Regions from separate parts of the Homo sapiens genome. Here regions 1, 3, 4, 5 and 6 are each linked to region 2. The links are contacts of gene promoters, found by promoter capture Hi-C in blood cells and fetal thymus (Javierre and others, 2016). All regions are on one chromosome and are shown on one strand. Each heading gives the region's core, a stretch centred on a gene start or on the middle of the fragment in contact. The rest is flanking DNA. Distances are from core to core; before and after follow the strand shown.

The links. Contacts are between HindIII fragments. The CHiCAGO score rates a contact against its expected background, and 5 or more counts as called.
Region 1: a fragment that was not itself captured here is called in contact with the fragment with the promoter of OPRD1 in region 2 in 2 of 17 cell types (naive B cells and M0 macrophages); the score reaches 5.1 in naive B cells.
Region 3: a fragment that was not itself captured here is called in contact with the fragment with the promoter of OPRD1 in region 2 in 2 of 17 cell types (total CD4 T cells and activated CD4 T cells); the score reaches 5.8 in total CD4 T cells.
Region 4: a fragment that was not itself captured here is called in contact with the fragment with the promoter of OPRD1 in region 2 in 1 of 17 cell types (megakaryocytes); the score reaches 5.2 in megakaryocytes.
Region 5: a contact is called between a fragment that was not itself captured here and the fragment with the promoter of OPRD1 in region 2, in 4 of 17 cell types (M1 macrophages, naive B cells, naive CD4 T cells and 1 more). The highest score is 5.6, in M1 macrophages.
Region 6: a contact is called between a fragment that was not itself captured here and the fragment with the promoter of OPRD1 in region 2, in 6 of 17 cell types (non-activated CD4 T cells, neutrophils, naive CD8 T cells and 3 more). The highest score is 9.0, in non-activated CD4 T cells.

What each region holds. Positions count from the first base shown.
Region 1 is chr1:29,196,088-29,199,335 of GRCh38, forward strand. MECR (mitochondrial trans-2-enoyl-CoA reductase) reads right to left here. Exons shown (of 10, transcript NM_016011.5): 8 at 111-171. Among named protein-coding and RNA genes, the nearest start is that of SRSF4, 16 kb to the left of the region's middle. RefSeq lists an enhancer at 2,190-2,690. The HindIII fragment of the contact is 3,116 bases long and covers 23-3,138 here.
Region 2 is chr1:28,810,053-28,813,557 of GRCh38, forward strand. OPRD1 (opioid receptor delta 1) reads left to right here and starts at 2,118. Exons shown (of 3, transcript NM_000911.4): 1 at 2,118-2,558. The coding sequence starts at 2,332. The HindIII fragment of the contact is 20,164 bases long and covers 1-3,505 here.
Region 3 is chr1:28,396,638-28,400,104 of GRCh38, forward strand. The region is part of intron 1 of PHACTR4 (phosphatase and actin regulator 4); the gene reads left to right. Among named protein-coding and RNA genes, the nearest start is that of PHACTR4, 29 kb to the left of the region's middle. The HindIII fragment of the contact is 1,507 bases long and covers 843-2,349 here.
Region 4 is chr1:29,082,614-29,085,954 of GRCh38, forward strand. All of the region lies in intron 16 of EPB41 (erythrocyte membrane protein band 4.1), which reads left to right. Among named protein-coding and RNA genes, the nearest start is that of TMEM200B, 40 kb to the right of the region's middle. The HindIII fragment of the contact is 1,200 bases long and covers 809-2,008 here.
Region 5 is chr1:29,169,445-29,172,576 of GRCh38, forward strand. All of the region lies in intron 1 of SRSF4 (serine and arginine rich splicing factor 4), which reads right to left. It also overlaps a transcript of MECR not described here. Among named protein-coding and RNA genes, the nearest start is that of SRSF4, 11 kb to the right of the region's middle. The HindIII fragment of the contact is 921 bases long and covers 1,017-1,937 here.
Region 6 is chr1:29,214,813-29,218,150 of GRCh38, forward strand. MECR (mitochondrial trans-2-enoyl-CoA reductase) reads right to left here. Exons shown (of 10, transcript NM_016011.5): 2 at 1,776-1,873; 3 at 1,193-1,324. Among named protein-coding and RNA genes, the nearest start is that of MECR, 14 kb to the right of the region's middle. The HindIII fragment of the contact is 3,428 bases long and covers 2-3,338 here.

The DNA.
Region 1 (3,248 bases), core at 331-2,830, 390 kb after region 2:
TCCAGGAACGGGGCATTGCCTAAGCTTAGACAGCTGTCGTGCCAGGGGATGTGGCCTGGCTGAGGTGTCTGGCCCGGCTCCAGGCATGCCTCCCTCTGCACCCAGCTTACCACAGAGGCTACGACGGGCTGCTTGGCCATCCCCCCATAGGTTACCATGGTTCCTCCACGCCTGAAAAGTCCAAAGAGAACAAAGAGTGGATGCAAGGCAGAGACAGAGCCCTTCCTGAACCTGCCATGGCGCTTCTACTCCAACCCTGGTTCCTTTATAAACCCTGCTCTCAGAATCTCTGGGAAAGGTTGAAAAATACAGATTCCAGCTGGGAGCAGTGGCTCATGCCTATAATCCCAGCACTTTGGGAGGCTGAGGCAGGTGGATCACTTGAGCCCAGGAGTTCAAGACCAGCTTGGGCAACAAAAGGAGACCCCATCTCTACAAAAAAAGTACAGAAAATTAGCTGGGCAAGGCGGCATGCCTGTAGTCCCAGCTTCTCAGGAGGCTGAGGTGGGAGAATCACCTGAGGCCATGAAATTGAGGTTGCAGTGAGCCCTGATCGCACTACTGCACTCCAGTCTGGGCAACAGAGTGAGACCCTGTCTCAGAAAATAAATGAATGAATGAATAAATAAATGCATGCTGGGGATGGCAGCTCACACCTGTAATACCAGCACTTTGGGAGGCCAAGGTGAGAGGATTGCCTGAGCCCAGGAGTTTGAGACCAGCCTGGGCAACATAGTGAGACCCTGTGTCTATAAATAATAATAAAAAAAAATTAGCTGGGCACGGTGATACATGCCTGTGGCCCCACTCAGGAGGCTGAGGTGGGAAGATCACTTGAGCCTGGGAGGTTGAGGCTGCAGTGAGCTGAGATTGCACTGCTGCATTCCAGCCTAGGCAACACAGTGAGACCATCTCAACACAAAACAAAACAACCAAGAAACCAGATTCCTAGGTCCAATCCCAGACTCAATGAATCAGGAGACGAGAATGTATATTAAACACACACACACACCCGCTCTGGATGACTTGTATGTTTAGCCAGGATTGGGAATCCACTGATCTAACCCATCCAGTCAGGCTTTGATTAAGTGCTGAAAAGAAACATGCTCTCCCCAGATGAGCTCGAGGCCTGAGTTCAGCCTTGGCTCTGCTCTCACTTACAGGTGTCCGACCTAGGGTGATGCAGTGAAAATGGCCCAGACCTCATCTCTTCATCTGCCAGTGCTCATTCTAAGAATCAACGTGAGGAAACAGCTCTACAGATAAGGAATGATGTGGACGGTGCAGGGAACAATGACAAGCATCTTCTCACTGCAGGAGGTGCCTTCTCAGTACCTGCTGTCTGACACCCACACCCCCATGTCAGCTGACATACAGGATTGAGGCTAACATAATTTTTAAGTGAATAAGCCTGGAGTTCACTTGACTTAACCTATGTTCACCTCCCCACTCCCTGGCTCTTCTAGGAGTCTGTTGATTAAGGATGACCTCAGGCACATTTGGGGACAACACAAGGTAGACTTTCAAAACTACCAAATGGAAGGAGCTGCTGTCCTAGGGCAGGTACTTCTGTCCCTGAGGCTGCTGGGTAGTTTGGTCTTAAGTGCCCCTTGACTGCCACCTGCTGTAGAAAGTAGCTCCTGGGAGCCAAGCCCTCTCTCTTCTGTATCCCTGCTGCACTTCATCTAATCAGACTAGCTGACACTTACCAGGCTTCTACTATGTGCCAGGCACAGTTCTAAGCATTTTGCATGCACTGCCTCAGGGAATCCTCGTAACAACCTTGTTTTAGAGATGAGAAAGCTGAAGTCCATCCGTCATTTGTACAGCAATTTGTATATCGCCCAGTGTCCTTTAGACCAGCGGTCCCTAACCTTGTTGGCACCAGGACCGGTTTCATGGAAGACAATTTTTCCATGGACTGGAGTGGGGGAGATGGTTTTGGGATGAAACTGTTCCGCCTCAGATTCTCAGGCATTAGATTCTCATAAGGAGCATGGGACCTAGATCCCTTCCCTGCGTGCTTCACAATAGGGTTCACATGCCCATGAGAATCGAATGCTGCCACTGATCTGTCAGGAGGCGGAGCTCAGGTGGCCATGCTCGCTCACCCACCGCTCACCTCCTGCTGCGTGACCTGGTTCCTAACAGGCCACGAACTGGTACTGGTCTGCGGCCTGGGGGCTGGGGACCCGTGTTAGACCACCCTTCAGAGGCAGAGGGTTTATATAACCCCCATTTTACAGATGAAGAGACGGAGGCCTGGATTGTTTTTCACGTATTGCCTAACTTTCCACAGGCCCACAGCTAGTAAGTCACAGAGCAGGGGCTTGAACCCAGCCATTCTGGCTCCAGTGCCTACACCCGTAACAACGCTTCCCCCTGCAATGACATTGGGATTGAGGTCTGCCGCAGGGGTTGTCTGTCAGGTATAGGGCTGAAGCGGTGTGCTCAAATGTGGGGTCAAGCCTGGCTCTCCTGCTGCCTAGACTTTGGGACAGGTACTTGACCTCTTTGGGCCTTGTTTTTTTTTGTTTGTTTGTTTTTGAGACACACTGTTTCTCTGAAGCCCAGGCTGGAGTGCAATGGCACGATCTTGGCTCACTGCAACCTCTACCTCCTGGGTTCAAGCAATTCTCCTGCCTTAGCCTCCCAAGTAGCTGGGATTACAGGCACCCACGACCATGCCTGGCTAATTTTTGTATTTTTAGTAGAGACGAGGTTTCACCATGTTGGCCAGGATGGTCTCGAATTTTTGACCTCAGGTGATCCACTTGCCTCGGCCTCCCAAAGTGCTAGGTTTACAGGCATGAGCCACTGCGCCCGGCCTGGGCCTCATTGTTTAAAAGTATAAAACAGAGGTTAGAACTGCACCCCCTGTCTAGGTGGTTGTGGGAAGGGTAAGTCAAGCGCTGCACACAGTCTGGTGCATGGTGAATACTCACCACAGTGCTCTGGCCACGTGACTCACCTGCTCATCAAGCCTGTGAATTCTCAGAGGGCACATCAGTGTCGCAGCCCTCTCTGTACCTGGTAGCTAGTAAGTGCTCAGCAAGTATGCGCTAGCTGAATCCGTACTATTGAGGGGGTTCCTGCTTTAATTAGGAAGTGTCTTTTTACACACACTCTAGCTCAAGAAGCTTTTATTTTTATTTTTTGAGACGGAGTCTCCCTCTGTCGCCCAGGCTGGAGTGCAGTGGCGCAATCTCGGCCCACCGCAAGCTCTGCCTCCGGGGTTCACGCCATTC
Region 2 (3,505 bases), core at 868-3,367:
ATCCAAGGGATCCATGTGCAGATTTGCCACCTGGGTATATTTTGTGATGCTGAGGTTTGGGGTATGAATTATCCTGTCAACTAAGTTACTGAGCATAGTATTCAATGGTTAGTTTTACACAATACTTTTTTGTGTGAAGGTGATGCACAAAAAATCCAATGATTACACAATAAATACATGGGAAACTATTAATATGTAAAGAAGAAGTACGTGATGCTACTGCATAATAAGGAGAGCTGGGCTAGTTGGAGGTGGGGTGGGGATCAGGGAAGGTTTCACAAAGGAAGTGATATTTAAGCTGAAATTTGAGGGGTAAATAACGCTTAGGCTGGGGTATTGGCCCAGCCTTCCGAGTGGAAGGAATAGCATGTACAAATGTCCTGAGGTAGGAAAAAACTTGGCTTGGAGGGTTAGGGAGGGGACCAGAATTCCAATAAAGTAGCCCTCCTTCTTCCTATCCCAATTTCTCTCTGCTGGCACTAGAAAAGTTTCTGAGTACCAGGCCCTTTGGGAAAGGGAGAGAGTTTTGGCAGCAGGTGACCACAGCAAAAATCTTTCTGATAAGTCCTTAGGTGGTTGAGTGGGAAAGCCCTGGGGTGGGGGGCTTGCTGTAGTTGGTAGAAGTGGCTGGACAGCAGCTAAGTGGGGTGGAGAAAATGGAGAAGAGGGTGAGCTTGGGAATTCTGGCTTTGCTTTTTTCTGGGAAAGGGTAGGAGCCTTGCACATATATGGATGATTCAAGCTAGAGGGTGAGATGAGGGAGAGCTCCTTGTCCAGCCACACACAGATCCAAGAGCATTGCCCCAGAGCCTAGAGCTCAGAACCCCTAATATTGTTCCACTCCAGTTCCCTTTGGGATCTTTATTATCCAAAAAGTATTTCTTGAGCACCTGCTGTGACCCCAGCCCTCTCCTGGATGCAGGGGTCAATCAGACCTGGTCCCTTTAAGGAGGGAGACCAGTTCGGATAGAAATAATTACTATATGGGATAATTTAGTGCTGAGCACTAAATCTGTAACATGGGGACAATAATAATAGAAGCTACACCAAAGTGTTGGTGCATGGATAAAGTGCTTATCACAGTGCCTGGAGCAAAGTAATGCTTGGTAGAATGTTCTGGAAAGGCTAGGCACCCCAAGAAGAAGGATGGCTCTAATCTGGAATGGTTAGGTCTTGGAAGGGGTGTGGCAAGGATGACTTAGCCAAGTGCCCCCCTTCTATCTGCTCGCACTGCAGCCAGAGTGCTCCTTAAGGTGGTCTTCAAGAGCCTGCCCACCACCTCATCGCCCCCTCACTTCCTGCCTTCTCCTCTTCCTGGCTTCCTTTCAGTCCCTCTGCTTCCTTTATCCGGAATCCTCTTCCCTTGTTACTTCCTTAAGTTAGTTCTTCCCCAAACTTCACACCTCACCTCAAGTGTCGTTTCCCCAGGGAAGCTGTCCTGACCCCTGGGTTTTGTAGACCCTGCCACTTTCTCAATTCGTACCTATATCTTAATGTCATTTTAGGGTTGCTCGCTCTCTCTCCTGCACTGGGCTGTAAGCCCCAGGAAGCAGAGGCTGCATCTGGTTTTGTGTACTAGAGGGTCCCCCCAAATACCCGGCTCTTCTATTAGGCACCCTCAGAATTTTTGTTGAGCGAATGAATGGGGTGCAAGAAAGGCACGGATAATATAGGTTATTTACGGAGCATGTAACTGTCCGCAGGGCACTGCTCTAAGCTCTTTGTTCGAATCATTTTATTCAATCTCCCCAACCACCCTCTGAGGGAGGTGGTACGATTTTCCTCATCTCACAGACAAAGAGAATGAAGCTGAGGGAGGTTAAGTGACTTACACAAGGTCACTCCGCCTGTTAGTGCAGGGGCGGGAGGCGGGATCCACACCCAGGTCCCTCTGACACCAAAGTGGCAAGGGGGTGGGAGGGGAGTCCAGGTTGGGACGGGGTCGCACTCGAGCCGGCGGAGCATCCCTAGGGAGGGGGCGGGAGGCCTCCCCTGCCCAGCTCCGAGCCGGTGGTGCAGCGTCCGCCCCCGGTCGCGGGCGCAGACTGGCGGCCGCCTCCGGGCCACGTGGTGCGCGCGGCGGGCGCGTCCGAGGAGCCTGCGGCTGCTCCTGGCTCACAGCGCTCCGGGCGAGGAGAGCGGGCGGACGCCGGGGGCTGGGCCGGTGCGGGCGGCGAGGCAGGCGGACGAGGCGCAGAGACAGCGGGGCGGCCGGGGCGCGGCAGCCGGCGGCGTCGGGGCCGCGGCCTCTGCCTTGCCGCTCCCCTCGCGTCGGATCCCCGCGCCCAGGGCGCACGGTGGAGAGGGACGCGGCGGAGCCGGCCGGCAGCCATGGAACCGGCCCCCTCCGCCGGCGCCGAGCTGCAGCCCCCGCTCTTCGCCAACGCCTCGGACGCCTACCCTAGCGCCTGCCCCAGCGCTGGCGCCAATGCGTCGGGGCCGCCAGGCGCGCGGAGCGCCTCGTCCCTCGCCCTGGCAATCGCCATCACCGCGCTCTACTCGGCCGTGTGCGCCGTGGGGCTGCTGGGCAACGTGCTTGTCATGTTCGGCATCGTCCGGTGAGTCCGCTGCGGGCCGGCGCCGCAGGGCTGGAGCCCGGGGTGAGGGTGGGGATCACGAACTTGAGACCCCAAGCCCGTTCCCTGGACTCCCCGCGCCTCCGCATTTCCTGCAGGGGCACCTGGGGCCCAGCGAGAGGCGAGGCCACTTACATCGAGGGGAACACAGGAATGTGTGTCATCGTGTGTATGTGTGTGTGTGGTGCGGGGGGGGGAGTGCGCCGCGGTTGACTAAATTACATTTGATCATCTGTTGGCATCCCCTTGCTTCTTTGTGGGACAGTTTGGCGTCAGTTTGTGTGTCTGTCACAGTTTGTGAGTGGATGGTTGTGACAGTACAACTGTATGTTTGGACGTCGGAAACATGCCCATGGGGTGGGCAGAGCTGCTCTGAGGTGCCGCGGGCCTTTGGGGAGACCGGTGTGAGGGCACCGTGCAGGCAGGGCGGACAGGAGGGTGCTGGGTGTCAGCACCTCGCCGTGGGGCCCTTACCAAGTCATATTTGGTGCTCATCTGTTGGTGTGAGCTTGTCCCTAACGGTCAGTTTGTGATTCTGTCTGAATGTAACAATGTGACTGTTGTTTCTTGTCAAGCTCTTGAAACCCCGAGGGCGGCAGAGCATCCGGAGTGGCCGTCGTCCCTGTGTTTGTGCAGCTGTGTGTGCCTTTGCCAGTGATTCCTGGATAACATGGGCGACAGCTGTGGGCCGCCAACCGGTTCTCTGTTCCCTTCGCCAGTGCCCATCTGGTCAGGAATTCTGAATAGGATTCAGAGAAGACTCACGCCCTCCTCACAAATGCCCTCTCCCATTTTCTCTTTGCCTCCTCTAACAGTCTTTTCTTCTGCCAGAGGCAGCAGAGGTTGGTCTGGGCGGGAGTGGATTTTGAGTTTTCATCCCAGGAAGTGAGGTGCTCTTCTTGGAGTTTATGGAGAGTGCTGGGACCTTC
Region 3 (3,467 bases), core at 346-2,845, 410 kb before region 2:
TTCTTAATTTTCTCTAGTGATGTGCTTTTTTTTTTTTTGAGACGGTGTTTTGTTCTTGTCTCCCAGGCTGGAGTGCAATGGCGCAATCTCGGCTCACTGCAACCTCTGCCTCCTGGGTTCAAGCGATTCTCCTGCCTCAGCCTCCTGAGTAGCTGAGATTACAGGCTTACACCACCACGCCCGGCTAATTTCTTTCTTTCTTTCTTTCTTTTTTTTTTTTTTTTTTTGTATTTTTAGTAGAGACGGGGTTTCACCGTGTTGGCCAGGCTGGTCTCAAATTCCTGACATCGGGTGATCTACCCGCCTCGGCCTCCTAAAGTGCTGGGATTGCAGGTGTGAGCCACCGTGCCTGGCCGTGATATGCTTTTAAATCAAGTCCAAGAAAATGTGGAAATAACACTTTAGTTGTTCAGTCTGCCAATGTAAATTTAGGTTTCATTATCTTGATGGTGTTTTTAGACATTGTGTATTTTGATCAGGCTTTGAATCATGATAGAATTAAAAACTGCTTTTTTTGTTTTAGAACTGAAATGGAGGAGTGAGGTGAGCTTTAAGACTGCCAACTATATGCCAGGCACAGCCCATTTCTTCCTGTTTTATTTTATAATAAATGCTATTTCATGAGATTCTCATTAAAGATGAGTATTATTAATCCCACTTGAATCCCCAAAGACAAGAAGGTTAAATTATTCTGCAATATTATCTTTTGTAACCAAAATCATTAACCAGTTTGTATATGATTGATATTTGAAACTAACTTGTGCTAATTTGTCCAATGAAAGATAATGCAAGTTCTCTTAACCAGTAAACTTTTGTTCTTTTGATTTTTGCCTGGCTTGTTAAGCTTTCTCAGGAGGGAGAAGGTTATTTTGAATAACACGGGTCTAGCGTTACAGCAATTACCCAGAAAGGAATAGAAAAGGCAGAAAATAATTTCATTCTTGACGGTTTCCATCTGAGTAGATTAATTTATATTTGTATGTACAATCTGAGGCTATCTTGGACATTCAAAATGAAACAAGGAATGAAGCTATTATTAGGGTAATTGAGAAAAAAATAATTTTTGCTTTTTTTTTTTTTTTTGAGTCTTTCTCTGTCGCCAGGCTGGCGTGCAGTGGCGCAGTCTCGGCTCACTGCAACCTCCACCTCCTGGGTTCAAGCGATTCCTCTGCCTCAGCCTCCCGAGTAGCTGGGACTACAGGTGCGTGCCACCATGCCCTGCTAATTTTTTGTTGTTGTTGTTGTTTTTGTATTTTTAGTAGAAACGGGTTTTCACCATTTGGGCCAGGATGGTCTTGATCTCCTGACCTCATGATCCGCCCGCCTCGGCCTCCCAAAGTGCTGGGATTACAGGCATGAGCCACCGCCGCTGGCCTAATTTTTGCTTTTAATATCAAGTTTCTAGCCTGCAGTACATGCTTCTGTGTTTCTTTCACTGAACTGACCTAGCCACAGTTACCAAGTTGAGGAATTGATACATTCGAAGAGTTCTGTTAAAGGTGGGAAGAGGATAATATATTTTAGAATTCTCATATACCTATGTTAACACCACCAAGGCTGTGGCTGCCATTAGCAACAGCAGCATTAAATATCTGTTGGGTGGCTGGCCGGGGTGGCTCACGCCTGTAATCCTGGAACTTTGGGAGGCCAAGGTGGGCAGATCATGAGGTCAGGAGTTTGAGACCAGCCTGGCCAGCATGGTGAAACCCCGTCTCTACTAAAAATACAAAAAATTAGCCAGGCATAGTGGCATGTGTCTGTAGTCCCAGCTACTCAGGAGGCTGAGGCAGGAGAATCACTTGAACCCCACAGGCGGAGGGTTGCAGTGAGCCGAGATCATGCCACCGCACTCCAGCCTGGGCAACAGAGTAGACAGACCCTGTCTCAAAAAATAAAATAGGCCGAGCACGGTGGCTCATGCCTGTAATCCCAGCACTTTGGGAGGCTAAGGCAGGCGGATCGCTTGAGGTCAAGAGTTCGAGACCAGCCTGGTGAACATGGTGAAACCCTGTCTCTACCAAAAACACAAAAATTAGCCGGGCGTGGGGGCACATGCCTATAATCCCAGCTACTTGGGAGGCTGAGGCAGGAGAATTGCTTGAACCTGGGAGCTGGAGGTTGCAGTGAGCCAAGATCGCGCTACTGCACTCCAGCCTGGGTGACAGAGCAAGACTCTGTCTCAAAAAAGAAAAAAAAATTTAATTAATTAAATACTGATATTCAAAAAGAAGCACTTTTGAGGCAATAGTTTTATCAGATCTCAAATATGTATGTTTTGTATCCATCCTACTGGTTCTGTTTCTGAGAAGAACCCTAATACAGAAGGTATTCCGGAAGACACGTTAGCCAAGCTTGAGATTTAAAGGAATTAGCTGTGTAAAGAGGTAGGAAAGGCTGGGTGCGGTGGCTCACATCTGTAATCTCTGCACTTTGGGAGGCCGAGGCGGGTGGATCACCAGAGGTCAGGAGTTCAAGACCAGCCTGGCCAACATGGTGGAACCCCATCTCTACTAAAAATACAAAAATTAGCTGGGTGTGGTGGCACATGCCGGTAATCTCAGCTACTGGGGAGGCTGAGGCAGGAGAATCGCTTGAATCCAGGAGGCGGGGGTTATAGTAAGCCAAGGTCATGCCACTGCACTCCAGCCTGGGCGACAGAGCAAGACTCTGTCTCAAAAAATATATATATGATGAATAATTTTGTGTTGATGAAATTTCTGCTGTGTATAAATATTTTTTGAGTTTAGTATGTCTCTACTGTTAAGTGATATGGCATGATTTATTTCTTTTACCACTTTTCGGTATTCACATTGCCAGGAAACTTGTTCCTTTGAAGTTATTTGGTTTTCTCATGGCTCACATACGTCATGGATACTTACCTAATTCCATTTCTATTAATTTCTTGTTGGTCTCGGACTATGTAGTACTGTTTGGTGCTAGTGTTCATTTATTTATTCAGTAAGTATTTTCTTAGTACCTAGTGTATGCACCTTCTAAATGCAGGGATATAGTAGTGAACAGAACAGATAAAGTATCTAATGATACTTTCTAGATTGGGAGAGACACAATAAGAACTTAGGTAAGCATATCTATAGATAAATTACAGATAGTATACCATCAGATAGTGATACATTAAAATAAAAATAAAACAGGGTAAATGGATAGAATGTTTTGAAAAGGGGGTGCCAAGGAAAGGCCTCTCTGAGGGAGTCACACTTGAGTGACCTGAAATAATGGAGCAAATCACGCAGTTTCTGGGAAAAGAGCATTCCAGGCTGACTGAATAACAACTGCAAACCCTAGGGTAAGAATGTGCTTGTTATGTTACAGAAACAATAGTAAGCTCAGTATGGGTAAAACAGAGTGAGCAAGAGAAGTAGGAAATGTGGTCAGTGGAGCAGACAGGGACCAGGACATGTAGGATCTTATAGGCCGTGGTAAGAAATTTGCAGTTGTCAAGCACAATG
Region 4 (3,341 bases), core at 159-2,658, 270 kb after region 2:
GTGTAATGAAATAAAACTGACCACCAAACGCTTCTGGTCTGTTAGACATGCTTAGTATAACCTTTAATATTTGCCCAAGCACTTTGACCTCTGTAGATCTATTCAGATTTGAGAACACTCATTTGATCTGTGGAGTCCTTGCTGGTGAGTGCAGTGTAAAGGCAAAATTTTCTATTACCTAATAGTTAAAATTTTGCATCCGGCATGGATTTTGAAGCTGTTTGCTTTTACGTTCACCTATTCTGGGGATAATCTAATAACAGCACTATTTAGGAAATTATAAAAACAATGTTTGACAGATAATTATCATTGGCTAATTTCATTTGCTGTCCTTTGTGAGAGGCTGCATTGTGGAATTATTTTCCTATCATAAGCAATTTTATCAACTCTAGTAAAGGCCCACATCTTCCGGAATAAGCCCCTTTATCCAGATTTTATACAAATGTAATCTTTATATACCAGAGAATAGCAATAGACTGTGAAAATGACTCTGAGTTTCATGGAGAAGCTAGTGAGCACTATAAGGATATATTTCTAGCTAGAAACTAATAGCATACAACCTTGAAAAAAAAAAGGCGAGAGAGGGTACATCCAAGAGAGAAAAATTAGAATGAAGAGAAATGTATTGCATGATAAAGAATGTCACACTAGAAAGGAAAGACAGAATTTTAACATCACCTTTTGCTAGCCCATGGTTACTCTGTTGTTAGTTTATCCCCATCTTGAGTGCTTGTGATTCTAATGTCCTTTTTCAAACTTCTAAGTGGCCTGAGTTGTCCACTGAAACTGTACAAAACTATTATTTACAAGCTTTTGGGGGTGGGAACCAGAGGATGTTTCTCCTTTCGGTAATTTTTGTTCTTCTGTCTTCATTTGTTTCCTTTTTTGGCTGAAGAATGGGCTCCTACTGCTTGACTTGTCATCTTTATGTGCTGTTTACACATGGCTTTTGCAAAAGAAGCCATTACCACATCTGATTTATCTTTTATTGCAAGTGCCCATTTAAAAGCATTTGTTTTAACTTAAAAAAAATTGTTTTAATCATCAGGCTAATGTGCCTACTGATTATTATACAACCTAGGGAAATGCTGATATAATTTTTCAAAATAGGAAATTACAAATATTAATATTAATGTATAAAGACATATGTTTTGCTCTTAAGAGGTTTTCCCCTAGGCACTTAAAGCCATTCTTTGCTGAGACTTAATCTTGTCATGTTTTGTTAAAGAGAAGAATATAGAAGCAAAGCACTCGCAATTAACTGATCTTATCAGGATTAAATTCTACATTTTTTAGTTTGCATGTTGTAGACCATCTGGGGGTATTACTTAAATACATTGTTGATAATTTAAGTGACTATGATATTTATTGTTTACTTTAGTTAAGAACCAGGAGCTGGACTCTTCTGCTGGGTATCTTCTTCTGTGCTTAGCAAGATAACCTCGATTCCTGCTGGTTCTGTGGTCATTTGCACTGCAAAGCATTTCTTACTGGGTTTGCAAAGCAAGGGTAATGTGCTCTGTGGGTGTATGTGTGTCTGTGCACCCTCATCCCCTATTCCCACTGCCATCTCTGTTCACTTCCTTTTACTTATCAAAACTTCTTTTTCTCAATCTATGTCAATCTTATTAAAAAGTTTAATGAATCACTTTTCCCAGACGTATAGAAACACTAATAAAAGTTTTATGTGTTAAATTTTCCTCACATATTTGCATTTCAGCAAGCCACAAAGTCATTGCACAGATGATGGTGACTGATTACAGCATTGGTTATATCATTAAGCAGTACTTACAAGGCCAGCCTTAAATCTCATTTTACTTGACAGAATGCAAAATAAAATGAAGATAATGTGGAAAACAATGGTATAGCTTAACGGATGTAGTGGATTGGGGATTACAATTGTGTAAAGTGACTGCAGAGGTATATGCTAAATCTCAGACTCTCATTTTGAGGAAAATTTAGTAATTTCAAGGAGCAAATGTGTGGGTAATAGCAATATAGAAAGATAAGCTTTGAGGCTAGAAACAGTAATAAATCTCTGACATTTTAAAATAGTTGTAAATTGTGTGACTAATCAGAAATATTCTATTTTCTTTCTTAACAGACAGTATGTATCCCAAAACTATCCATTATAAATGGTATTCTTCCTGAGGATCTTGGTTCGGGAATATTTATGAAATAGCCTCATAGTATACCCATTTTAATTCTCCTGTCACAATTTCTTTCTTCAAAGTTGTGATGTTCTCTAAAATATAATGAGGACCTGTTTGAGAACTTGCTAACAAAAGCTGAAAGGAAGCCCAATTTTAGTTAAATCCATAGGCTTGGCCCACTTCAGGAGTTCAAGAAACACCATGTAGGGACTTCCTGTCTTTATTGCTTTGGTTCACGTTACTTTGCAAAAAGTAATATTTTAAGAAATATAAATCATTCTGGATATGAATTGTGATGTGATAGAATCAATCTATAGTGTATATCACTAACCTAAAGTTATTGTTTAGATCAGTTTTGGAAATACTTTGATCTTCTTTTTTTTTTTTTTTTTTTTGAGTTGGAGTCTCACTCAGTTGCCAGGCTGGAGTGCAGTGGCATGACCTTGGCTCACTGCAACCTCTGCCTCCTGGGTTCAAGTGATTCTCATGCCTCAGCCTCCTGAGTAACTGGGATTACAGGCACCCGCCACCATGCCCGGCTAATTTTTTTGTATTTTTAGTGGAGATGGGGTTTCACCATGTTGGCCAGGCTGGTTTCGAACTCCTGATCTCAAATGATCCGCCTGCCTCAGCCTCCCAAATTGCTAGGATTACAGGCGTGAGCCACCACACCTGGCCAAAAACCACATTTTAAATCACTTTCCTGATAATATCGCTTCTACCTCTAAATCAGAAAACATTAAAATACAATGAAGCTACAACTTAAATTTGAAGTATTTCTTTTCCACCAGTTATACAGATATATTAAATTCATCATCATTGACTTTGACTTTCTTTTCTTTTCTTTTTTACCCCAAGTTTACAACCTCCACCTGCCAGGCTCAAGTGATCCTCCCACCTCAGCCTCCTTAGTGGCTGGGAATATAGGCATACACCACCACACCTGGCTAATTTTTTGTATTTTTGGTAGAGATGGGGTCTTGCCATATTGCCCAGGCTGGTCTCGAACTTCTGGACTCAAGCAATCTGCCCGCCTCGTCCTCCCAAAGTGCTGGGATTAAAGGCGTGAACCACCTCACCCAGCTGACTTTGACTTTCAAAACCAACTAACTAAATTACCAAGGTTTAATATTATATTCCCCTTATAAAAGAGAACTTTTATATTACATACCAGTTACTAGCTTATAA
Region 5 (3,132 bases), core at 227-2,726, 360 kb after region 2:
AAGAGTAAGTGGCAAGAAAACACCATTTCTGCATGTGATGTGTGTGTGCTAATACCAGTAAGTTGTGAACATTTATTCTCTACAAGTGGAACCAAACCCATATGCCATCAAAATTTTAATACTAGTCTAGGAAAATAGAAAAAGGTAACAAATCATTAAGAAACTTATATCTCAGCAATGAGAACACAAATATATCAGTGGGAAAATTAAACTCATGATCCTTTCTCATAAAGTAAACCAACTGCTGAAAAAAAATCTCTAATGATGAACTAACCAAACTCAAGCCCATGGTATTGAGTCCACATTGCAGATAACAGCCCATCTCTAACAGAATATATATTCACATAGTAGGGTGAGAAAAACAGAACAATCATTATCCTAAACACCAAACAGTAAAACTAAATCCTCCCAGAATGGGAGGTAGAGAGGAATCTGCATCAAATATGAATTTAGTCTTACTCTGTAACTACTCTATGAGCCTATTTGCCAACTTTGTTTTAGCTATTCAAAACTTTCAAAAATGAACTAAGTCAGCTAAGGTATTTCACTTTTACACTGCAAATAGTTTGTGGATCAAACTATCATTACCCCCTGCAATCATAACTGAACTTTCTTTTTTGATATTTTAAAGTCAACATGGCTTTCCTGAAAGGGAGGGCAGATACAATCATCTGTGTCCATTTCAATTTTCTGACACTTTTCAACACTAAGGATAAATGAAATTGAAAGCTTTCAAAAAAGGGGAATCAACTATTGCCTGATGACAAGAAGTTCGTGAAGACTCAACCACAAATTAAAAACGATTTGAAAAAACTCGAGAGATGAAAGTCACATTACCAATTTAGAATAAAACTCTTGGGATTTAATATAGAATTACTTTATCTGTTATTCCTACTTAAAGAAATAAAGGTTTACACTCTGCAGACAGCACTACCTGATTCCACACAAAAGCTACAAACAAAACCAGTTCATACTTACCTCTTAAACAACACAATGAGCAGGCTGCCAGGTGTTAAAGCTTCATTAAAGATGATGCCTCTTGGATCATCTTGGCTGTATGAGGCACCATGTCCCTCATAATCGCCCCTGGTCCCTGGGCTGGAGTCTGTTTCTTCATTTTCATTTTTGGTTAAAGATGCCACTCCCTATGCTTTTATTAATTAGTGGATGCCACTAATTAAGTATTTTAATGAATTTTTCAAATTCTTTTAAAATGGATGGATCAATAGCTTCATTTCAATTACATGAAAACCTTTCCAAGTCCATGTTTCTGGTCTGTGGTTCCTGACTCCCTTGCCTGAGCCTCCTGCTCTGTCTGCCCTCTTCATTCCTGAAGGCTGAATTCAAACCTCCCTCTTTCAGACTTCCTCTTCTCTCTAGGTCTTGGGGGTCTTTGTTCATGAAGGTCCCCTTTCTGGCATAAAAACCTAAACCCATGGTTGGGGACCTGGGAGAAATAAAGTGCCTTTCAAGCGCTTCTTCAGACATTGCGTGCAGTTCAGAAATCTTTAGCCTGGGAGACTTTCATCTCAACACACAGAAAACTCAAGTAAAACATTTCCTCAAACTATGGGCATACAAATTCAGAGCATAATCTAATCCCTCACCTTCAGGGTACTATAAGACCAGACGGCCCTAGGAATGACAATAAGGCAGAGAACATTTACTTGTACAAATCCTTCCTCAGCCAACCACGATAAAGCTGATACCACCTTACAGCTTTTCAAAGAGTAGCCTGAGGAGGAGAATCACTAGCAGTCTCCAACTAAGGACAACATCATAAAAAATACCATCTGTCTCACTTTTGGCAGTAACTTGTCAGCTTGCTGGAAGCCTCTACAGAGACTAAAGGCTGAACAAGCCCGGAAACCTGAACTACCCTCTCACCCTCAGAGGCAATCCCCAAAGGACAGGACTAAAGGAAATAGCATGAGGGAAGCTTTGAATGTCAATGCCCACATGTATCTAGTATGGGAATTTAAAAAATCTTCTATTTCCGGAGTTGTCAATAACTCATTTTGTAACCTTGGGCCAGTCACCTTATCACCCCATGCCTCAGTTTCCCCATCAGTACAAACTAGGGACAACACTTGTTCATAAAGTACTTTGACATACTCAGTTGAAAAATAAGTCATACAAATGCATTAATATTTTCGGAAGTTTTAAGATTTCAGTGTTAGCTTACAAATTTGTAAGTATCACCCCAACGGTATTCTCTCAGATGCCTGGAGCACCTTTCTTCTGAGGAGCTCAAAGTAAAATTTGCGGTTCTGGGTACCTGGAAGCATAAAAAAATACTAGAAACCCAAACCACATTTTATTACCGAGTCTATATCCTGTGCCTATCTTTTAAGAAGGGACAAATACTTCGTATGGCCCTTAAATTCATACAGTACCTCAATGAGAAAGGAGGAGCAAAACAGTATATTAAACTGAAGAACAGGGATTTTAAATGACTTAGTCAAATAATTACAAATGATGTTTATTCATACCACAAACTGAAGGGACCAAGAACCAAGGAGTGGAGGTCTTGAACCAGGGCAATTTACGCTGTTAACATTTGGTCAAAAATCTCAATATGGTATTATCTCTTGGCATTGATTTTTCAAAATGACAGAAAAAAATTAAATTCCCCATATATTGGGGGAAAAAAATAATACACTTTTTTGGGGGGTAAGTTGACTTTAAAAAGTGACTTTTAATAAAAAAAAATTTGATCACATTTGTAATAGTTATATTACTAATAAAACAATGACAGAATGCTACTTAATTCATAGTCCTATCTCTATTTATTATTCATTCAAGAAAAACTTCCTGATTATTTTTCACTTGGTAAATTAGCATCTTTTATTTTTATTTTTTATTTTTGAGACAGAGTCTCACTCTGTCACCCAAGCTGGAGTGGAATGGTGTGATCTCACACTGCAACTTCCGCCTCCCGGGTTCAAGCGGTTCTCCTGCCTCAGCCTCCCGAGTAGCTAGGATTGCAGGAGCCTACCACCATGCCCAGCTAATTTTTGTAATTTCAGTAGAGACAGGGTCTCATCATGTTGGTCAGGCTGGTCTCGAACTTCTGACCTCAGGTGATCCGCCCGCCTTGGCCTCCTAAAGTGCTGGAATTACAGACGTGAG
Region 6 (3,338 bases), core at 466-2,965, 400 kb after region 2:
AAGCTTCAATTTATGTCCAATGGATGGATAATACCTGCCCTGCTTCCCTCTTGTAGCTGCTGTGAGGATCAATAACAGACGTGCCTTGAAAACTGTTAAGTGCTAAAAACAAAACTCACCTATGACTCCTTATAATATATCAAACAAAATCCTACTCATTAGCTTGGCTTGGGCAGGGCCTTACCCCATGTGGACACAAGCTACCTTTTTAAAAAAAAATAGACAGGGTCTCACTCTGTTGCCCAGGCTGGAGTGCAATGGTGCGATCATAGCTCACTGTAGCCTAGAACTCCTGGGCTCACGTGATTGAACCTGCCTTTCTGGCCTTCTTTCTCACTCGTGCAATCCTCTCCCATATGCAAACCCTCTGCTGAGGCTACAATGGATTTTCCACCATTTCCCAATCTCACCTTTGTGTCTTTCCTCATTTTACATCCTCCACATGAAGTGAATTTTGGCTCATCTCCATGTATAAACAAAATTCAGACTCGGCACAGTGGCTCATGCCTGTAATCCCAGCACTTTGGGAGGCTGAGTGGTGGGTCACCTGAGGTTAGGAGTTTGAGACCAGCCTGGTCAACATGATAAAACCCCCTCTTTACTAAAAATACAAAAATTTGTCGGGCGTGATGGTGTACACCTGTAATCCCAGCTACTCGGGAGGCTGAGGCAGGAGAATCGCTTGAACCTGGGAGGCTGCAGTAAGCCGAGATCGCGTCACTGCACTCCAGCACAGGTGACAAAGTGAGACCCTGTCTCAAAAAAAAACAAAACAAGGCCAAGCGTGGTGGCTCAGGCCTGCAGTCCCAGCATTTTGGGAGGCCGAGGCAGGCGGATCCCTGAGGTCAGGAGTTTGAGACCCAGCCTGGCCAACATGGTGAAACCCCATCTCTACTAACAATACAAAAATTAGCCGGGCGTGGTGGTAGGCGCCTGTAATCCCAGCTACTTGGGAGGCTGAGGCAGGAGAATCACTTGAACTGGGGAGGCGGAGGTTTTGGTGAGCTGAGATCGCGCCATTGCACTCCAGCCTGGGCAATAAGAGCAAAACTCCGTCTCAAAATAAATAAATAAATAAAAAAAATAAACCCTGCATTACCCAGGTACACTCGGCCAATCAGTGGATGCCGACAGAGTGGGTGAAATAGGATCTGGAAGAACGAATAGGCAGCTGACACCTGGAGAAACTCACCTAAACCAGCATTTGCTGGAATCACCCAGTCTCCTGGCTTCAGCCCGGTCACATTGCTGCCCACCGCTACCACCTGTGCAACACCTTCGTTCCCTCCAACAGCAGGCAGTTCAGGAAGGAATCCGTAGTTTCCTGAGGGAGAAGAGCATTAAAGGGTCAACCAGTGATGTTTGGGCAGTGAAAGAGCATGGACTTGAGTCCACGCCATCCTAGGCCTGATCTGGGCTCTGCTTTGGACTGTCTGCCTAACCAACCTCTGAGCCTTAGCTTGCTTGTCTGTATAGGGGGACAATATTCTTTAGTGTTCATGGTTATCATGAAAATCAGGTAACATATGAAATGAAACCAGCATGTCGCAGGCACTTCACAATGCTTAGTTTACTCCCCACTGCAATCTTCTCAAAAAGCCACACATTCCAGAAAAGGGAGGCCAGACAGGGCTGACACAGCCTGCAGACGGCTCATCTGGAGAACAGCTGCTGCTAATCACAGGCATTTCACACCCACACCTGAGGAGGAATGAAAATGAGGTGGCAGCTGAACAAAAAAGCCAATTAACATAAGCCACAGAAACCAAGGTTACCTTGGATCATATTTATGTCAGATGGATTGATAGGGGCCGCCAGCATCTTCACACGGACATCTGATCCTCTCACAGCAGCTAGCTCCAGGTTCTTGAGTCTAAGCACAAAGCCAAACGGAGATGTTCATGTCATCCAGGCTAGAATGGGTGTTTCGCTCAAATCATCTCCTCAAAGTAGGTCAGGCAACATTTCTGAGCTGCCATGTGTGCCCAGGAATTACGGTTCTGTTATAAAAGAGAGGTACCATAAGAAATCAACACAGGAGGCTGGGCGTGGTGGCTCACGCCTGTAATCCCAGCACTTTGGAAGGCCGAGACAGGCGGATAACCTGAGGTCAGGAGTTCAAGACCAGCCTGGCCAACATGGTGAAAACCTGTCTCTACTAAAATACAAAAATTAGCTGGGCGTGGTGGTCGGCGCCTGTAATCCCAGCTACTCGGGTGGCTGAGGCAGAAGAATTGCTTCAACGTGGGAGGCAGAGGTTGTAGTGAGCTGAGATTGTGCCATCCAGCCTGGGTGACAAAGCAAGACTTTGTCTCAAAAAAAAAAAAAAAAAAAAAAAAAAGAAATCAACATAGGATAGAGGTTGACTCTCATTAACTGCAAGTGGAAAACCCACAGTGTTTTTTTTTTTTTTTTTAGACAGAGTCTCACTGTGTCACCCAGGCTGGAGTGCAGTGACACAATCTCGGCTCACTAAAAGCTCCGCCTCCCAGGTTCAAGCGATTCTCCTGCCTCAGCCTCCCAAGTAGCTGGGACTAGAGGTGCCTGCCACCACGCCCGGCTAATTTTATTTATTTATTTTTTTAGTAGAGATGGGGTTTCACTATGTTGGCCAGGCTGGTCTTGAACTCCTGACCTCGTGATCTGCCTGCCTCGGCCTCCTAAAGTGCTGGGATTACAGGTGTGAGCCACTGTGCCCGGTCTTTCAACCCCACTGCCCACTCTGGGACAGGAAACCTCTGCTGGCCTAGATGAGCCCTGTGTTTTCCAAAACTCGCTTAGTTATAAGAATTACCTGGTATGCTCATGGATATAAATTATCAGGCCCACCTCTGATCTACTAAGCCAGAATCTCCAGATGAGGGCACCCCAAGTAGTTCTTACCAACCGGGGTATCTTGGAAATCCCAGGCTAGCTGACATGTCCTCCACATGTTTGATTTTATTCTTGGTCCTAACATATACAGGGGAGAGGAGATATTTCTGTTAGTTGCAGAGTGTGGGCGTAATGGGGAGATGGCCTATGTAGTTCACAAAGAACTCCCTGGATGGCTGTGATTCACTCTGAGTGATGTCCCTTCTGGAGGAGGATTCTTGTCTGGCAGAAAAGACCCTGGGTGGAGGGCTGAAGGTCCTGGGTATAAAGCTCCACTGCAGGATGCCTGGGTCACCATGGGCAAGTTTCTTCTCTGCTCTAGGCTTCTGTTTCTCCATTTGTAAAACAGAGTTGCAGTGGTGGTTTGGACCTGATCCCCTCTGGAAGCCTCTTCCATGTTAAGTGGTAAGTCCCTCTGCTCATGGTGGGTCTTGGACACCATGGTGGCAACATCTTTATCCCAG